Linked DNA regions of Homo sapiens: region 1 is linked to region 2. The links are contacts of gene promoters, found by promoter capture Hi-C in blood cells and fetal thymus (Javierre and others, 2016). All regions are on one chromosome and are shown on one strand. The core of a region is centred on a gene start or on the middle of the fragment in contact, and the rest is flanking DNA. Distances in the headings are between cores, read along the strand shown. Region 1 overlaps PRIM2 (DNA primase subunit 2). Region 2 holds the start of KIAA1586.

Region 1 (7,419 bases), core at 3,864-6,363, 360 kb before region 2:
GGTAAGAATGCTAAGTGTATAGTAGCTTCTCACTGAATACTGCATAGATGAGATAAATACATAAATCCCAAGATACACAGTCAAATCACATGTCTACTATAATGTTTTACAACAGTATTAATATATTGGAATATTTGACACTTTGATGATTTTTTAATGTTAATTCATATATCCTCCAGTAAAATTTTAACTAATACAGCAAGTTACTTACGTTCTTAAGTCTCATATTTCAGAATTTGCTACAGCCCCTCCTTTCTATGTAAATGAGTAGCTTCCTTTTCATCTTTACTCCCTGGATGTTTATGACCAAATGTGAAGCCCAAGCACAGCATCCATGCTGATATTCAAGAGTTATGAGTTGTCCATTAGTTCTAATTTTCTATTTCTTTTACTATCAGGTTGGTGCAAACATAATTGCAGTTTTTGTATTGTTGGAATTTGCCATTTGATATTGGAATACATATTTCGGTCAATGGATTTTATTATAAGCTGCCTTGATGTTTTAGGGAAACAAATAGGTTATAAATAAACTTACCTACTATGGAAAAGTTATATACCAAGTTTATATTTAAAAATTCACATTTTCTTTTATCCATCAAAATACACTTCAATTCAAATTTATTCCCCTCCATTTTTTCCTTCTCCCCTAAGTTTCTGTTAGACAACTATCAAATTTACTGTAAAGACCAAATTTTCTACCTTCACATAGTTTGAGCTTCACCGCTATTTTCTTTCACTTCTTTCAAATTACTGCTTTTGAGTGGATCAATATCATAGTTGCAAGGCTGAAGTGGTCTCTTTTGCCATGCTCCAGATACCTATTTTTAGTTAACAGGTAGCTACTCCCCAGAAACTTTCAACAATGATAGAAGCCACAAAAAACTAACTTACAAGCATTGAGGTTCTTTTATTAAGCTTATGAAGTGTTAGTACATTTCGAAGAAAGGAGAAGATAAGACTATGGTTCTTATACTCTATATCACTCTATCCATTTCCCAGTAACGTAATGAAATTATTTAATACAAACTAAAACTACTTTCTCTTTCTTCATGGCATACAGATTTTATATAGCCTTATGCCTTTGTTTTTCCATTTCTGTTTCTTTTATTACAGGAACTTGTTTTCCCATATATTTATTTCCTCTTAATATTTCTGTTGCATAACTCTTCTGGGTGACTTGTCTAAAACTTTTCAAGAAAATTAAAAAATTATTTCCCAAGTAACTAAAGAAATGAAAATTAATGCAATAAGTTACTACTTTTACCCATCATGTTAGCCAAGATATTTAACTGTAAAATCCTGAATAATTGAAGAGTTGAACCAGCTCTTCTCGTATATCATGTGGAGAAGTACAAACTGAAGTAGTATAGATAAAAGCCGTTCCATAAATGTATCAAGAGCTTCAAGACATTTCGACCCTCTGACCCAATAATTTAATTTATAAATCTACCTAAAGAAACAAATCGTAAATAAAAACAGAGGCTTACATAGGAAGTGCTCATCACAGCATTATATGTGATTGTAGAAAATTGCTAACAGGGTAAAAGTCTAATATCAATAATTAGATAAATAAAACAAATATACTTATATTATAGACAAATATTCTAAATCCATGTGATAGATTACACAGTCATAAGCATGCTGTTAATAAAAATTAAAATATTGAGAAAATGCTTGTGCATGTTAAGAAAATGAGTTCCAAATGTTAAATTCCATATTATCTCAACAATAAAATCTACATAATGATTTTGTCTTCATGCAGTCTTGTACTCTCCAAATTTTCTACAAAAAGGCTTAGTGTTTTAAAATTAGCATACTTATATATTTGTTAAAACCACAGAGCTTTTTCCCTATGTTCTCAAAAAATCTTAATATTAAAAATATTTTAATTATAAAATATTAAACCAGCTTATAAGACAAACCTAGTTAAGATCTATTTTAGACAAAACTTTAAAATAGAGAAAAATGTTGGCAATTTAAACAACTCTATATATTACATTATTAAATTGTATTATTTATACTATGCTGCTATATAAATTGCATACTTAAGAAGGAATATACTTCCCAACTCATTAACAAGGTCAGCATTACCTGATACCAAAATCAGATAGCCCTTACATGAAAGGAAAAGTCTAGATCAACATCCCTCATTGGCAGTAAAGCAAAAATTCAGTAATATATAAAAAAAGGTAATATACCTTGACATAGTAGGTTTATCCCAGGAATGCAAAATTGACTTAATATTGTTTTAATCAATGTAATCAAGTACACATTCACAGATTTTAAAAAATTTAAACAATATTGTCAACCCAGTAGATGAATAAATGGTCAAGGCCTCACTCTGTGGCCCAGGCTGCAGTGCAGTGGTGCAATCACAGCTCACTGCAACCTCGACGTCTCCAGGCTCAGGTGATCCTCCCAAGTAGCTGTGCCTACTGGCCTGCACCACCACATTCATTAATCATACTTTTTATAGAGACAAGGTTTCACCATGTTGCCCAGACTAGTCTCAAACTCCTGGGCTCAAGCAATCCACCTACCTCAGCCTCCCAAAGTGCGAGGATTATAGGCGTAAGCTACTAGGCCTAGGCAAGACTGGGTAATTTATAAGAAAAGAGGTTTAATTGGATCACAGTTCTGCAGGCTATACAAGAAGCATAGCGACATCTGCATCTGGGGAGGCCTCAGGGAGCTTTTACTGATGGAGGAAGGTCAAGCAGGAGCAGGTACTTCACATGGTGAGAGCAGGAGCAAGAGAGAGAGAGTTGGGGGGATAGGTGCCACACACTTTTAAATGACCAGATCTCAGGAGAACTCATTACCATGAAGACATCACCAACCATGAGAGATCTGCCCGCATGATCCAAACACCTCCCACCAGGCCCCATCTCCAGCTTTGGGGATTATATTTCAACATGAGATTTGGACAGGGACAAATATCCAAGCTATATCACATTGATAACCAAAAAAAAAAAGCAAACGAGAAACAGAAAGAAGCTTCCTTAACCTGATAAAAGGCCATCTATGAAAAACCAATAGGTAATATCACACTTAATAGTGACAGACTAAATGTATCTATCCTTAAGTTCAGGAACAAGACAAGAATGCACACTCTCATCACTTCTATTAAACATCGTAGCAGAGGTCCTAGCCAGGGTAATTGGCAAGAAAAATAAATAAAAGGCATACAGTTGGAAAGAAAAAAAATAAAACTATATTCACAGACAACATAGACATCTATGTAGAATATACCAAATAATCTACCAAGAGGCTACTAAAATTAATAAGTTTAGCATAGTTACAAGACCTAGAAGAGCCAAAACAATTTTTGGAAAAAGATCAAAATTGAAACACTGACTCTACCTAATTTCAAAACTTATTATAAAGCTACAATAATCAAGACAGAGTGATACTGTTACAAGGACAGACATTTATATCAATGGAACAGAAAAAAGTACAGAAACATACCCATGATCAAATTATTCTTTACAAGGTGAAAAATGGGGAATCCAATGAAAAAGAAAAGTCTTTTCTTTTCTTTCTTTCTTTCTTTTTTTTTTTTTTTTTTGAGATGGCGTTTCACTCTGTCACCCAGGCTGGAGTGCTGAAGTGCAGTGGTGCAATCTCAGCTCACTGCAACCTCTGCCTCCCAGATTCAAGCAATTCTCCTGCCTCAGCCTCCTGAGTAGCTGGGATTACAGGTACCCGCCACCACAGCCGGTTAATTTTTTGTATTTTTTAGTATTTTAGACAGGGTTTCACCATGTTGACCAGGCTGGTCTCAAACTCCTGACCTCATGTGATCCACCCACCTGGGGCTCCCAAAGTGCTGGGATTACAGGCGTGAGCCACTGGCCCGGCCCAGTCTTTTCTACTAATAGTGCCAAAACCAACAAGGAAACCAACAAGGAAAAAAAAATCAACATGTCTAAAACCTAACCAAAACATGGGTCATAGAGTTAAATACAAGAGCTAAAACTATAAAATTTCAAAAAGATAATACAGGAAAAATTCTTCATGCTCTTGGGTCAGTTGAATACTTCTTAATAAAAGTAAACCATAAAAGAAAGAAACTGATAAAATAGACTGAATCAAATTGTAAAACTTTGTTGCTCTTCAAAAGACATTGTTAAAACAAAAGGCAAACCACAGACTGGGACAAAATATTTGCAACACACACACATATTCAAGATATGGAAATTAAAAGCACAATGAGATATCATCATACATCCATTAGAATGATTAAAATTTAAAACTGACAATATCAACTTTTGGCAAGGTGGTAGAATAACTGGAACACATACACTACTGGAGATGAACATATCTATCCACTTTGGAAATAGTTTGGCAATTTCTCATAAAGTTAAACATACTTTAAACATATTTATTGGTCAGCCCAGCAATCCTCCTTAAAAGTATTTATCCAGGCCAGGAGCAGTGGCTCACACCTGTAATCCCAGCACTTTGGGAGGCCAAGGAGGGCGATCACGAGGTCAGGAGATTGAGACCATCCTGGCTAACACGGTGAAACCCTGCCTCTACTAAAAATACAAAAAAATTAGCCGGTGCGGTGGTGGGCACCTGTAGTCCCAGCTACTTGGGAGGCCGAGGCAGAAGAATGGCGTGAACCCGAGAGGCAGAGCTTGCAGTGAGCCAAGATCGTGCTAGTGTACTCCAGCCTGGGCGACAGAGCGAGACTCCATCTCGAAAAAAAAAAAAAGTATTTATCCAAATATTCACAGCAGTTTTATTCATAATAGCCAAGAACTGGAAACAATCTAAATGTCCATCAAGTGGACATTTGAATTGGGGACTAGATAAACAAATTGTGGTATATTCATACAATGGAATACTACCTAACAATTAAAAAGAATGGAAAAAATGTTTTAAATTAAAAAAATAAAAGAATAGAAGAATGAATTACCAATACATGAAACAACATAGATGAGGCTGAGATGGGAGGAGTTTGAGACCAGTCTGGGAAACACAGCGAGACCCTGTCTCTACAAAAAATTTTACAAATTAGCCAGGTGTACTGGTATGCACCTATAATCCTAGCTACTTGGGAGGTTGAGGCAGGAAGGTCCCATGAGCCAGGAGATCAAGGTTGCAATGAGCTATGATTTCACCACAGCATTCCAGTTTGGGTGACAGAGTAAGACCCTACCTCTAAAAACAACAACAACATAGATGAATGTCGAAAGCACAATGCAGATCAACAAAAGCCAAATGCAGAAGAATACATAGTGTATGATTCAATTTACACGGAATTCTAAAACAAACAAAATTATCATGACAGAAACAGATGAGTGTTTGCCCAGGGCCAGGGGTGGAGGGAGGAAATTAAATGCTAAAGGCTATTTATTGTACAAAAGCACAATAAAATCTTCTGATTTGTCAATTTACTCCCCCAACAAATCTACTTTCTCATGGCATTTATTATGCATTTATTATGTGGGTGGCTATGTGAATGACATGCCTGGTCAAACCAATCACCTGAGCCATATGCAAATCAGACACCGTCTCCTCCAGCCTCTTCATATACCTGGCAGGTTTCCACCACACTGGGGGTCTCTTCTCTCAGCTTTGGAGCCCCCTCTCCCTCTGGCTCTGTAAAGGGGCGCTTCTTGCTTCTTTCTTCTCCCTTCTGTCTTGCCTATTAAACTCTCCGCTCCTTAAAACCACTCCACATGCACCCATGTCATCTTATCTAATTGGGCATGAGACAAGAGCCCTGGTGTTCTTCCACTCATCGAAGCCATATCACAATGATTGGCACATTTATGCTCACCAACACGTATCCAAAGTGGGGAAAAAAAAGGAATATTTGTGCCTGCTTCCCACAAAGGGGGAGAGTAACATCATTAAAGATCACGAGCATAAAAATTACAGATACAGGTACATTGGCTTAGAATTCTGTGACCTTGGATAAGTTACCCAACCTTCCCAAGTTTCCCTCTCTGCAAAATTCATGCAAATAACCATCTCATAACGTTGCCAACAGGGTTAAATTGAGAACACATATAATACATCTAATTGTGTCTGGTACACAGTATGTGCTTATTAAAAAATTAGAAACCTGCCTTCACCACCACTACCACCACCATCATCATCCAGCAAGCCAATTCTTTAACTAATCAGTTCAGAGGCTCTTGACCTCAAAAGAATGATTTAATGCCACATGAAATTGAAGGAGAAAATACACAGTTTCAAATTCTCTTTTTCTCCCTGCTCTTCACCCCATGTGGGTGTGCCACTGTGTACCGCCTCAGGCCTAACCCGCAATATGCAAATGATACGTATTTGAAGGATAAATAAATTCCTTAGGCAAAGTGCTAAAAAATAACAGTGGAGGCTGCTCAGCCTATAAAGTAGCCATTCTTTATTCCTTTACTTTCCTAATAAACTTGCTTTCACACACACACAAAAAAAAAACCCACACTGGAAACATAAAACAATGAAGCCATTTAAGTGAAAAAAAAAATCTGTGACTTTCAGTATGTCATTTTTTCAGCCATCTACAAGAAGTACAGATTATTTCCTTCTTAATATTTTGAACAAAATTCAAATATAGTCCAAAGGATTAATGAAAATATACTTACAAAACTTTAAGCTACTTAGAAGAAAAGATTATAAATGCAAATTGTTATTCTCTTTCTTTGAGATTATAGTTGCCCCGCCAAAATCCAAAAAGGTATATTCATTTTTTCCTCAAAGATTGAACATTATTTCATTTCCTTTCCATTATTTTAGCCTTTAATAGTCAATGTTATAACTGTGGAGTTTTTGATGACACAGTTAAAGAAGATAACATTCGGGTTACCAATCTTGTTTACCATTCTTTTGTTTCAAATTTATAAGCAAGTAATCTGTCTTCTATATCTTTTTCCAGGTTCAGTTATCTGTTTTCTAGATCATTACCTTATTCACACCTCAATTTAGTAAACTCAATGACACTGTTCACCTGGCTGTTTTGCAACTCAACAAATACAATCTTATACATGAACAAAATCATAGTGCCACAAGGGACAACCGCAACCAGAGCATAAGTACTTTCCATGATATTTCTGAAGTCTCATAACTGTATGTTAGGTCTCTCTTTTAAAATGTAGGCATGAAAAATATAAAATTATTAAAAATAAGATTTTATACAAAACAGCAAGAGTCTCATAAAACATTTCCTTCTACTCTTAGTACCCCTTTAAAATTTTAAGGGAAACCAAGCTTGTTATTCTCAATTCTCTCATTCCTTGGTTATTTCCAATCAACTAGTCTCAGACGATTTTCATTTTTTGTTTTTATTTTTTATTTGAACTTACACATTACTCTCCTAGAACTTGTTGGGTAACATTTTCTGCACCACTCCAATTTTAGTATATATACTGCCTACTTAAGTTCACAGGGTTCTCTCTGTCACTC
Region 2 (7,292 bases), core at 4,402-6,901:
ATTTGCACTCAACCTTTGCATATCCTCCTCTATACTTGAGGTCATTTCTAGATTATTTTTAATACCTAATATAATATCAATGCCATAAAAGTTTTTATAATGTATTACTTTTTAATGTGTTTATTATTGTATTTTTATTATTTAAAAAAATATTTTCCATCTACAGTTGGGTGAATCCACGGATGTGGAACCCACAGTATATGAAGGGCTGACTGTAGTAGCAACATGAAGGGTGGATAATATTTTCAATTACATTAATGAATAAGATGAAAGTGAAACAATAAAGACATATATTAGAGTTTCGCTCATTCATCAATGACATCAACATCTTTCCGAACTAATGAAGAGTTTAAAAAAAAATTTTTTTTTTGAGACGGAGTCTCGCTCTGTCACCCAAGCTGGAGTGCAGTGGCGCGATCTCAGCTCACCGTAAACTCCACCTCCCGGGTTCAAGCAATTCTCATGTCTCCGCCTCCCAAGTAGCTGAAATTACAGGCACGTGCCACGACACCTGGCTAATTAGTTGGGACTATAGGCATGCACCACCACGCCCGGCTAGTTTTTGTATCTTTGGTAGAGATGAGGTTTCACTATACTGGGCAGGCTGGTCTCGAACTCCTGACCTCAAGTGATCTGCCAGCCTTGGCCTCCCAAAGTGCTGGGATTACAGGTGTGAGCCACCATGCCTGGCCGAGTTTTGGAATATTGCAAAGCAACTTCCTCAATTTTTTTGTATTGCATTTAGTCTAGCAGAGACACATCACACTTTGAAATTTAATCTGCATTAACATTCTATCCTTCACTTTCTTAAGTTTAATCAACAAATAATAAATCAAATTCTAGTTTGTATTTTACTGATTACAATGGGGTAATGTTCTATCAATACTGCAGCAGGACACTATTATGTATTAATAGTATTTCTACCAATAGATGCAAATAACCTCAAGTGCACAGATAGTAGGAAATGATGTATTAAGTAGGAAATGATGTATTAAATATGATCATTTATGTACTTGTGCATTTATATACTTTAATTTGTAATAACTGTTATGTTTACAATCAGCTCACAAAATTCCTGAAAGTTTAACGATTAGATTTTTTTTTTTTTTTTTGAGAAGGAGTCTTGCTCTGTTGCCCAGGGTAGAGCACAATGGCATGATCTCGGCTCACTGCAACCTTCACCTCCCAGGTTCAAGTGATTCTCCTGCCTCAGCCTCCCAAGTAGCTGGGATTACAGGCATGTGCCACCAAGCCCGGCTAATTTTTTGTATTTTTAGTAGAGATGGGGGTTTCACCTTGCTGGCCAGGCTGGTCTCGAACTCCTGGCCTCAAGTGATCCAACCGCCTCGGCCTCCCAAAGTGCTGGGATTACAAGCGAGAGCCACCGTGCCTGGCCAACAATTAGTTCTTATGATCCAGTTCAAGCTACCACCAACACACTATTGCACTTAATAAGAAAACTGAACAAACACAAATATAATGTGCTTACATCACTATAATAGGCGCTAGGGTTTTCATCATCACCACAGACCAGATCGATGTATTCAAGAACAGGTCTCGATGGTCCTTCCTAAAAAGGAAGTGGGCAAATTTACAAGTCATGAACAATCATTCCAATTAAACTTAAATTTAACAATCAGTGGGAGATTTTTTTAGTTGGAATTGGGAAAGATTCTCGAGAAAATCTTGCAAGTGGCACAGAATAATTAGAAACAAAACGGGCAAAGGGGCTGGGAGCAGTGGCTCACACCTGTAATCCTAGCACACTGGGAGGCCAAGACAGGAGGATCACTTGAGCCCAGAAGTTCAAGATCAGCCTGGGCAACATAGTGAGACACCAACTCTACAAAAAAAAAAAATCAGATGGGTACGGTGGCTCACACCTGTAATCCCAGCTACTTGGGAGGCTGAGGTGAGAGGATCACTGGAGCCCAGGAAGTTGGGGCTACAGTGAGCTATAATTATGCCATTACACTCTAGCCTAGATAAAATTTAGAGCAAGACACTGTCTAAAAAAAAAAAAGAGGCATGGGAAAAGAGTCAGAGTACATGAATACGTAATACTGTTCCTGCTAGTAAAAAGGAAAAAAAAAAAAACATAATAATGACAAAACCCAAAGAGCCTAAATCTATATAGAGGAATAAAGCCATGTAGATTCCTTTCAAAATGGGAAATAGCACAGATATTGATTTAAAAAGATACAGATTTCAGTTAGGCACAGTGCCAGTCTCAGCTGCTCAGGAGGCTGAGGCAGGAGGATCACTTGAGCCCAGGAATTCAAGTCCAGCCTGGGCAACATAGTGAAAAACCCACCCCCTGGCCCTACCTCATTAAAAAAAAAAGATAACAGATTTCATAGTACAATTTTTTTTAACTGAAATGATTATCAGTAATCTCGAAGTTCTTTGATAACCCTGCTTTATCCTCCACATCACTGTACAGCCAAACATCAAACTCTGAGTCTTCTTGATCCTTTCTTTACATATACACTACCCTCATCATAGACCAGGCCATAAATGCCCTAGTCAAAATCCTAGATTTTATTCTGTAGGCAAAGGAATCAATAAATAACATCAAGATGGGAACATTATTAGAGCTGTTTCAAGAAGGTTAACCACATAAGAGAGCATGTGGGAAGAATACAAACAAGATAATCAATCTAGACAAATGGTAATGTGGTACAAAAATAGTGATGGCAAGGAGGAAGTAACCTTCCCTGTATAGGTACTATATTTCAATAAAATTTACATTAAGATAAGGACTCTTTTTGTATCCCCAAATCTTTTATCATTCCTTTCTTTCAGCATATTGTTTATTTTGGAGGCTAGGTACATGACAGAACACAAAGAGGATTCTGTGCCACAACGCAGAATGAAGGCTAGATAATCAACATTTATATGAAAAGACTAAGGAATCCAAACCAGAATATATCAAGAAGTAACAAACTTTTTTTTCTTTTAATCTGAAGAACCCACAAGCAGAGAACTATACCCAGCAGCATTGCATCTTTACTGGATGGTACTATAAAAAACACAGAGAAATAAGCATATCCTGGTAGAGCCCAGTATAGGATGGGGTTACAAAGGAAAGTTGTCTCTGAGTGTATTTCAAAGTGGAATTAAGTTATCATTGTCTTTTATGTGGCACCACTGAAATGCAACAGGGATGTTTTACTACATTCTTTCTGGTACTGCAATTACACTGACAGCATGTAATTCACTTCTCCATATAAGAGCTGTCAAACCTTTGATCTTCTATTTTGAACAGGGTTAAATATAAAGGGTTCTATCACGCTGGATATACAAAATATTGTATGAAAAGATGTAGAAGGATCTTTATATTTAAAATAAAATTTAAAGTAAGAGTTTTAAACCTCAGCTAAACACAGCCTATATATTAACTCACAATTTAAAATATAATGATTTATTCCTCAGGATATTACACAAATCTATACCTATTTACTTTTCCAAACTTAATTTTGTACATCCCATCTGTGTTTCTCAACGGCACATGGATCATGAATCAGACGTATGTCACTTCTACATACTTTCTCAATGGCACATGGATCATCAATCAGACGTGTGTCACTTCTACATACAGATGCACAAAAAACTCATCAAGATCATCTGTCCCAATCATTCCTGTTTTTATACCAGTTAAGAGGAAACCAAAATTATTTTTCCTAAAGACCCATGAACTCCTCTTCCCAAATGTTTCTCGTTACAAAAACAGAAACCATTGCTCTTTGATTTCAAGTTACGTTGCTTACTCCATAACAACAGTGAAGGCAGAGTCAGCATACAATCTCCCTTGGTATCATCAATATTTAGAAAGGTTCCAAATGTCAGGAACAAAATATACACACACTATTAATTGGGAAATATGTCCAGAAAGTGACAGGGTAAAGAACTTATACACAAAACACGAAAAACAAACAACGATGTTAACAAAACAATGTTTAGGGAGGAAATTTTAATTTAAAAAACAAGTGACTTACAAAGTCGCCCTAAACCTACAAAAACTAAAAAACACAGAAACATTAGACAGACACTCCATTAAAGAAAAATTCTACAGCCTGAATACCAAACTGCAACTAACTACGGCATTCCAAAAGACGAGTTGGGGACAGAACTGTTTTCTGCCTGGCGAGCTGAGATACCACTTTACGCAAAGCCTTTCTAAAACTCCAACAATTATGGATGAAAATCACCCCAAAATATATCATAAAACACTCCCTTCTGCTTTAGAAACCCATTCTGTCCAAAGTGTGCTCAGAAATCCTTATGTCCCTGCACTTGTCTGAAAATGAAGATTCCTAGGCCCCCGCCTGGAAATTCTGATTCGGTAGGTCTGCAGTGGGGCCCAGGAATCTGCCTGTTTATACTTACTAAGGCTTGAAAACTACTGTCTCAAAGGGAACAAACTCAGAAAAATAGAGCATGTTCCCAGTGATGTAGGATTCTTCATTATGAGCATCAACTGTACTATGCCGTAACATGATGATCTCAGAGGTTAGAGAAATCTTCAAGCTATTTGCCTTCATGTTAGAAGCACCATAACGCTAAGATTCTGGGCTCTCACAACCCTTCCTGTTTTCTACGTCCTTGCTCATCATTAGCAGCTCCTTCCTCCGTGTCGCCTTTAGAAGTTACTCTTGCTCCATTTCAAAACAGCGTTTTAGACACCAGCGTTTTTATCTTAAGTTTAAATGAAAGGCAGGGGGCGAGATTAAGTGTACAGCACGTTCTTTAGGACGTGCTCTTTGTGATGGCTACGGGGGTGGCTCAGATAGCTCTTTTGGTAAATTTCCCAATCCTGCGCCATGCTCCAGTGTCTAGTATGTATTAGACACTCATGAACATTAAATGACCAGGTGAGGTAACATTACATAATGGCCCACCATAGTCTTTTACTCTGGGAAAACCCCAATCATCATTGCTACTTACACTGACAAACTGAATGTCGTCTTCATTTTCATCCGTTGTTGACTCAGATGCCTCAGGGCCAGCTGGAGGGACAGATTCTATTATCTATAAAAACAAGCCAAAACATGCTTATCTGTTCAGCCACATTCGTGTAGGAAGAGAGCGTTTCCGAAAGGAACAATTAAAGACAGAGAGCTCTTGAGGAAAACGAACTGAGCACAATTTCACGGAAACCCGACTAGGAACGGAACTCGAGCTCTGGCTCTTGCCACAGAGTGTGCGGAGCTGCAGGGACCCAACGCTGAAAACGCGTTAGTTACCAGCCTCTCACAATTCCCCTTATCTACTCCAGGAGGAACGCAAGCTCAACACCGAAGGGCAATCCTGCCTTAAAACGTCGCTCCCACTGGCCCAGCCGCGGCCACAACGAACGCCAGGGCCCGTGCGGGGGGCCGGGCGGCCATTGTTGCTGCGGGTTCCTCGCTCAGACACGCACCAGGCCCCAGAGCTGGGCTCGGCCCAAGACACTGAAGAGGTATCGCCCCGAGGCTGCGACGGAGCACCAGGCCTCAGACCGCAGAAAACACAAACCCTTCGCGGTTCGCCTCTGAGAACGCCAGGACCCTCACTCGACTACTCACTTCCGACCCCGGGTCTCCCATGTCTCCGACGGCCGCGCTGACAGCACCACTGCTCCTGCTGTCCCTACTGCCGCAGCCGCCACCACTCCCCTTCCCGCCCTGCACCGCCTCGCGCTACCGGGACCCGCCCCTGCGTGAGCTGGGAGGCCACTGGCGGAAAGAGACGAAAACCGCTTCAAAAGAGGGGCAGCCCTCACTGGTCCGCTATCTCCCCGGAGCCTCTTTCTCTCATTCCCGGGCTTCCTTCCCCGCGCCGCAGAGGATGCTGGGATGGTAGTTCCTACCCGCCGCGCGACCGCGCCGCGCGACTGCCCCGCGCGTGGGTGAAGAATGGAAAAAGACTCTGAGCTACAGCGAAGTCGTCTCCCTTCGGTGTTGCTCTACTATAATAAAATAGCCGAGTTCTTTCTCTCACTTTTTCACAACCAAATATTCGTCTATGTAATAGATCAATGGGAATGAAAAAAAATTGTGTGTGATTTGCTCAGAAATTGCCTTACCAAAATCGTGGCTCACCTTTTTATTTTAACATTTATTCACAAATGATTTTAAACATGAAATTTATGAAAGCAAATTTTAACAGAGAATATTCTTTTAAAGCTTTTATTTGTTTACCTCTATCAGCCTAGGACCACCTGTTATTGACAAGTCTGTAGTCCCAGAAAATCACCTTTATCATTTTGACCCTGATCTACAATGCACAAAATTATACAACAAAGGAGCTATGAGGTATCTGATTAGCCAACTGATCTTCAGCAAAGCAAACAAAAACATAAAGTGGGGAAAGGACACCCTTTTCAACAAATGGTGCTGGGATAATTGGTGACCCACATGTAGAAGAATTAAACTGGATCCTCATCTCTCACCTTATACAAAAATCAACTCAAGATGCATCAAAGACTTAAATCTAAGACCCGAAGTCATAAAAATTGCTCAAGATAACACCGGAAAAATACCTTCTAGACATTGGCTTAGGCAAAGACTTCGCGATGAAGAACCCAAAAGCAAATGCAACAGAAACAAAGATAAATAGACTGAACTTAATTAAACTAAAAAGCTTCTGCACAGCAAAAAAAATAATCAGCAGAGTAAACAGACAACCCACAAAGTGGGAGAAAAGGAGAACATAGGAACAAAGGAAAACATAGACTTACTAGGATTTTAAGGAGTTGGTGAAATTTAAGTGAAGCAGTGTTTTGATAGGTTCAAAACCGTCTAGTGCTGTGTGTAAAGGGTTCAACATCACATACGGACTGCATAGCGAGCCCAGGGTCTTGTTAACTTCAAAACTACAAAGTTAACACACACAGAGTATTGTGCTCAGAAACCCCTTCCTCCGTGTAGCCATGCCCTAAGTGTGTGGATTTATTTCTGGGTACTGTATTCTGTTCCATTTGTCTGTGTGTCTGTTTTTATACCAGTACCATGCTGTTTTGGTTACTATAGCTCTGTAGTAGAATTTGAAGTCATGTAATGTGATTCCTCCAGTTTTGTTCTTTTTGCTCAGGTTAGCTTTTGCTATTATTCTCGGTCTTTTGTGGTTCCACATAAATTTTAGAATTGTTTATTCTGCTTCTGTGAAGAATGTCATTGGTATTTTGATGGGGATTGGATTCAATCTGTAGATTGTTTTGGGTAGTATGGGTAGTATGGACATTTTTTAAAAATAAAAATGTATTTTTTATTTCAATAGGTTTTTAGGAAGCAGGTGGTGTTTGGTTACAT

Evidence for each region. The method cuts DNA at HindIII sites, captures the fragments that hold promoters and counts their contacts. A CHiCAGO score of 5 or more calls a contact.
Region 1: a contact is called between a fragment that was not itself captured here and the fragment with the promoter of KIAA1586 in region 2, in 1 of 17 cell types (total CD8 T cells). The highest score is 5.4, in total CD8 T cells.

Annotation. Positions count from the first base shown.
Region 1 is chr6:57,406,481-57,413,899 of GRCh38, reverse strand. All of the region lies in intron 7 of PRIM2 (DNA primase subunit 2), which reads right to left. Among named protein-coding and RNA genes, the nearest start is that of MIR548U, 20 kb to the right of the region's middle. The HindIII fragment of the contact is 4,227 bases long and covers 3,000-7,226 here.
Region 2 is chr6:57,045,052-57,052,343 of GRCh38, reverse strand. It overlaps KIAA1586, which reads right to left and starts at 5,651. Exons shown (of 4, transcript NM_020931.4): 1 at 5,568-5,651; 2 at 4,948-5,031; 3 at 1,490-1,570. The coding sequence starts at 5,588. RefSeq lists enhancers at 4,186-5,063, 5,880-5,969 and a silencer at 6,599-6,893. The HindIII fragment of the contact is 6,924 bases long and covers 1-6,169 here.